Linked DNA regions of Homo sapiens: region 2 is linked to region 1. Evidence: promoter capture Hi-C in 16 types of primary human blood cells and fetal thymus (Javierre and others, 2016). All regions are on one chromosome and are shown on one strand. The core of a region is centred on a gene start or on the middle of the fragment in contact, and the rest is flanking DNA. Distances in the headings are between cores, read along the strand shown. Region 1 holds the start of IFT56 (intraflagellar transport 56). Region 2 holds the start of STMP1 (short transmembrane mitochondrial protein 1).

Region 1 (2,879 bases), core at 221-2,720:
GAGTGCAGTGGCATGATCTTGGCTCACTGCAACCTCCGCCTCCCGGGTTCAAGCGATTCTCCAGCCTCAGCCTCCCGAGTAGCTGGGACTACAGACACGTGCCACCATGCCCAGCTAATTTTTGTATTTTCAATAGAGACGGGGTTTCACCATGTTGGCCAGGATGGTCTCGATCTCTTGACCTTGTGATCTGCCCGTCTCGGCCTCCCGAAGTGCTGGAATTACAGGCATGAGCCACCGCGCCCGGCCAAGTTTAGTTTTTTAGTTCGTTTTTTATCAGGTTTATAGCTAACTTGGAATCTGGAATCTGTGCCTGACTAGATTTACAGGGGATTTGTACAGGAAGCCCCAGAATGCACCCACCTATTTCAAGAGCATAGCAAACAGCATTCACCCAAGCATTCATCTACAGTCTGGTATTCATACACTAAGAAGCAACGTTCTTTGGGCATTACCTCCAACAGGGTAATAGCTCCAGTGAAATCTCTTTTTGAAAGTAGCTCCTCTAGTTTTGGAATCTTCCTACCTTTCTTCTTTCTTTTGTCAGTGTGCTGTACGCCTCTGCCTACAGCAGGTTTGGCCCTTGAAAGCATCTGTAAAAGAAACAAAGACAGCTGTATGGTCCAATTCTGATTATCAGATTTAAACTGAGAGTGACAGCTCTGTAATTTATAAGTCAAGGCCGGGCACAGTGGCTCATGCCTGTAATCCCAGCACTTTGAGAGGCGAAGGCGGCGGATCACGAGGTCAGGAGTTGGAGACCAGCCTGGTCAATATGGTGACACCGCATCTCTACTAAAAATACAAAAATTAGCCGGGCGTGGTGGCATGCGCCTGTAGTCCCAGCTACTCGGGAGGCTGAGGCAGAAGAAACGCTTGAACCTAGAGGCAGAGGTTGCAGTGAGCCAAGATCGCGCCACTGCACTCCAACCTGGGCGACAAAGCGAGCCTCCATCTCAAAAAAAAAAAAAAAATTATAAGTCAAATCCTTAACAACGAACCCCAGGGAAGCCTATTCAAACTCGTTTTGTAACAGGTATTCTACTAGAAGAGCCATCAGCCAATACTTAGGAAGGACCAAACAGCTACTCCCAACTTTTATCTTCTCTGGCTAGAGATGCTTTCGCATTGCTTCTGTCATCTCAGCTTTCCCTTCCTCTGCTTCCCATCCCACGAGTGGTTTAAATGTGAGTAAACGGAAAAGCAGGAGGGAAGAAAGCACCGAGGTATTTACAGTTGCATCCCTGTCCCCCGTGGGAACACAGGGAGAGCTGGGGATTACTCTCTGCGGACACACCTAGACTTCACACAGAAGTGTGCTGGGAACCTCTAATCGCCAGCCTCAGGACCTACTCAAAGTACTCCCTTACTATTCAGAGCCACTAACCATCTTGACGTCGGTCTTGTGAGTCCCCACCACACAGCGAAGGCCGCGCCTCAGCGTTTCGCCGCATCCACACAGCACGTTCTGTCTCCACGGTAACCCCGCCTGGACGCTGGTACGAACGGGAGAAAAGCTCGTTGGAGAACCAGCGCCCGCGGCTTCTTGGTTCCGTGCAGCTTCTGCCGCGGAAGAGCCGAGGTTCCTCTTGGGAGGAGAGCGTCGTTCTCTGGGCTGAGAGCGAAAGTTTGGTTGTCTCTATTTATGAGTTTACTTTAGGAAAAGGCGAATTGGAATGGCATTGTTTTTCAAATGCAAGTTTTCTGGGAAAGAAATTTTCAGGGACCACTTCTGTTTGGGGCCGTGTTGGACTCCATAGCAACCCTTGACTATGTGCACCGCAGAATCTTGGTCTCTGGCTGGTGCGGGAAGCTTAGAAAATTTCTGCTGAAGGAGTTGTAGTTCTGTGATTTGGAAGCAGGAGTGCACCAAAATACAGTTTCCTATTTCCACAGATACACCTACACACAATAGAGAACTGTAATAAATATTTGTCGATTGGATGACTTAATTTATCTATCTTACTCCTGAACCCAGTTAATACAGGGGCAACCACAGTCTTTAAATTCACGAAATCGTGGAATGTTAGAGTTGGAAGGGACCTTACAGGACCTCTGGTCAACCCCTCAGAATTAACAGACTGAAGAACTAACATCTTGTTAGTTAACTAATGTCAGCCTAAAATAACCAAAAAGCTCAGGGATCCAGTTGAAAGAGTTTATTCAAGTGCAAAGTGTGAGGGCGGCTATCCCGGGAACCACTGACAGCAAAGAATGGTGATCAGTGCTCCCTGATGCAGGGAAAGGTGAGGGTCATTTATATCACCAAAAACAGGAGTGCTGTACGTAATTACAGCATTTTCTAGATGAGGCTAACGTACACAGAAGATTCAATTCACTACTATTGATTACACTGTAAGGGGGTTGTTTAATATTCTATTGTAAAGAGGTAACAATCACAAGGGTCTCTATCTCCAACGTCATTTAGTCTGAATAAAGAATAAAAAATCTGGTTAATATATAACATCAACACAAAGATCAGGAAGCAACAGTCATGCACCAGAGAAGAAAAACAGCCATGTTCTGTGATTTAGTTTACAGGGCTTAACTTTTCCCCTTGGCATAGTACGTTTGGAAAGTGCTGAAATTTTCTTTTCACATTTTCCCCTTTTCTTCAAAAGCTTTCAGAGAAAGCATTATAGAAGAATTATATTCTCAGGCCGTGTATTTGATCAAACCTCATGTCACTAGGAAGGCCCCTTCCTGGCAGTCACATCCCAGGGAGGAGGGGAAATTGGAAAGGACCAAGTCCGAATTATAAAGCAACAAGAGAAAGTAGTTCTGGAACCTGATTCAGGCTACACGGCTGCCTCTTCAATCAAACAATTCTCTGAGTAGTCTTTGTTCTACACATTTTCTCAGCTGTGTGTTGACCCAAT
Region 2 (2,784 bases), core at 58-2,557, 3.5 Mb after region 1:
TACAAAAATTAACTGGGCCTGCTGGCGCGCACCAGCTACTCGGGAGGCTGAGGCAGGAGAATCGCTTAAACCCAGGAAGCGGAGGCTGCAGTGAGCCGAGATCGCACTACTGCACTCCAGCCTGGCGACAGAGCGGGACTCCGTTAAAACAAACAACAAAAAAAGATACAGCATTTGAGCCGGGAGCAGTGGCTCACGCCTGTAATCCCAGCACTTTCGTAGGCTGAGGTGGGTTGATCACTTGAGGTCAGGAGTTCGAGACCAGCCTGGCCAACTTGGTGAAACCCGTCTCTACTAAAAATACAAAAATTAGCTGAGCATCCTGGTGCGCGCCTGTAATCCCAGCTACTCCGGAGGCCGAGGAGGGAGAATCGGTTGAACCCGGGAGGCGGAGGTTCCAGTGAGCCCAGATTGCGCCACTGCACTCCAGCCTGACGACACAGCGAGACTCCGTCTCAAAAAAAATAAAAAATAAAAAAAAATAGAGGTTGAAAGCATCAAGTTTTGAATGCACAATAGCTTGGCAGAAAAACTTTCACTTGAAAATTTGATGAGCAACTCCTGGAACCTTCACCAAGCAATTTTTGAAATATACCGAGTTTTGCCAGAAAACTCGTTTTTAACTCAAATAAGGAGCCAAGAGAAATAGTCTGCTTACTCATGCTTACACATTTTGGGAAAAATTACTTGTATACCAGTGTCTGACTCATTCCTCCAACTCTGAAAGGTCTGATGAGGACTTAGCCTCTCGGACTTCGTGAGGTGGCTAATTTACGGTTTATTCCTGGCCTTCCTACCTCCTCAGAAAAGCCAACTAGCAGGGCTCCACAGCAGGGACCGGCCGGCGACCATGTAATGGAACAGGAGCGCAGAAAGAAAGGGGGGCGGACTACGAAAAGTCATCAAGGACCACACAAGCTTTAATACAAAGATTGCACAATGAGCGCGGGGCGCGGCACACAATAAGAAGCTCTGGAAACGCACACTCTCTGACACCTCAAAGTTTTAGGGACTTGGATGGCTGCAGAAAAATATTGGCAAAGGGATTTTCTGGGGAGGCAGGAAGAAAACGGCCGCCCTGCGAGGCGACGACCAGGCGCGGGGGACGAAGGGACCGCTGGACCCACGCCCAGGCCGGGTCGGCGGGGTCGGCAATCCTCAAGGGGGAAATGGGGTCCGAGGCACGCCCCAGGCAGCGGGCCCCGCTCTTCGGCAGCTCCACTCACCAGGAACTGGAGCATGATGTCGGTGGGGAGGGCGAGGAGGGCGCGAAGGACTGCAGCAGCTCCGCGGGCCGGTCCGAGCCTACCTCCCCATGCGCGGGGGGGGCGGAACCCCTCGTCGACTTCCGGGTCACGCCACGCCCCGCCCCGCTCCTCCCACTCAGCCCGCGCCCGGAAACGACTTGCAGTGTCGCAGCGCCCAGGTTCCCCCTGGCGGAGCGCGTTGGCCTCACCGCCTGAACCGGCGGGGCAGCGAGCGCGCGACAGGACTTGCGAAGAGCAAGTCCCGAGCCTGGCTGGGCATCCTTGAGCATCCCGCCTCTGTAAACCTGGGCCGAGGCCCAGGAATCTATATTATTCTCAGCACGCGGACTATTCTGATACACAGCCCAGTTTAGGGCTCTCTAACCTAGAAGGACGGCATGAGCAGCGGGTCCCATCCCTAGGTTCGCAGCTGAATCGTGGGGGCTTTTGCAGCATCCTCTACTTGGGCCCAGCTGGACTTTGCGGGGAGGAAAGGAGGCTTGTAGCTCTCAAAGCTCCGCAGGTGTGCTGTGTAATCAGCGTTGTGTAATCAGGTGTTGTGTAATCAAGGTAGAGGCTGGGTACCGTATGGGGCCCATGCTGCCGTGTGCCGCACGCCAGTCACTGAGATGATGAGTTTTGTAGCAGAGAAAAGGTTTATTCACCAGGCAGCCAGCCGAGGAGACGGGAGAACAGATCTCAAATCTGCCTCCCCAAAGATGGGTTTTAGGGATATTTATGGGATAGAGGAGCAGGGTGGTCTGAGGTGTGGGGAAAGGCGGTTGAAGGTAAGGAAAAGTTTGGCAATGGGTTATCTGCGCGAGGTAGTCAAGCTTCATGGCTCTTTATAGGATACATGGTCACAAAATGACATCCTTAGCATGATCTGAGTGTGGAGGTTTTGGCCCTCTAATGTCAGAAGGACACCCATCGGGCTTTCATGCAGGCCCAGTTGAGAGGTTGGTGGTTTAAACTGTACAAGAACTGACCCCAACTTCCTGAAAAACAAGAAACCTTTATCAAGCAACCCAGATGTCAGAGATGTTATCCATAAGGAAGATAGTGGGAGCTTAGATATATATTGTTTAGCTCTGTGACTTTAGCTATGTGGGTTTTTTAATCCACTAAAAGCAGGTGACTAAAAACAAGTGAGAGAAGTTGCATTTGGCAGGCCTCATCAGGTTGGCTCTCAGTTTCACTGGCCTAGCTGGGTTTCTTGCCTGGGATGGCCATAGGTCCTGTTGACAATTTGTATCATCGCCACAAAGAGTCTGTTCTGTCAGTCTTCCGGTCTGTGTATGTGTGTGTTTTTTTCTCTCTTTCTCTTTTAAAGAATTTATTTTAAGCCTATTATACCACACAGTATGTTTTAAACACTAACTCCCTAATAAGATATATAACTCCCTAATAAGATAAAGCAAAGACAAAAAAAGTTCATCTTATTAGAAACAAGATACACCATCCCTTATTGTCTTCAAAAATTATTGCACTTTAATTTTCATAATTTGACAAAGCATTCATGAAACAATCTGCAGAC

What was found. The method cuts DNA at HindIII sites, captures the fragments that hold promoters and counts their contacts. A CHiCAGO score of 5 or more calls a contact.
Region 2: a contact is called between the fragment with the promoter of STMP1 here and the fragment with the promoter of IFT56 in region 1, in 1 of 17 cell types (total B cells). The highest score is 6.9, in total B cells.

Annotation. Positions count from the first base shown.
Region 1 is chr7:139,132,369-139,135,247 of GRCh38, reverse strand. IFT56 (intraflagellar transport 56) reads right to left here and starts at 1,470. Exons shown (of 18, transcript NM_024926.4): 1 at 1,388-1,470; 2 at 456-593. The coding sequence starts at 1,390. RefSeq lists enhancers at 1,454-1,633, 1,351-1,645. The HindIII fragment of the contact is 9,761 bases long and covers 1-1,815 here.
Region 2 is chr7:135,661,037-135,663,820 of GRCh38, reverse strand. STMP1 (short transmembrane mitochondrial protein 1) reads right to left here and starts at 1,307. Exons shown (of 3, transcript NM_001130929.2): 1 at 1,227-1,307. The coding sequence starts at 1,241. RefSeq lists enhancers at 1-48, 49-573 and a silencer at 1,213-1,432. The HindIII fragment of the contact is 1,162 bases long and covers 921-2,082 here.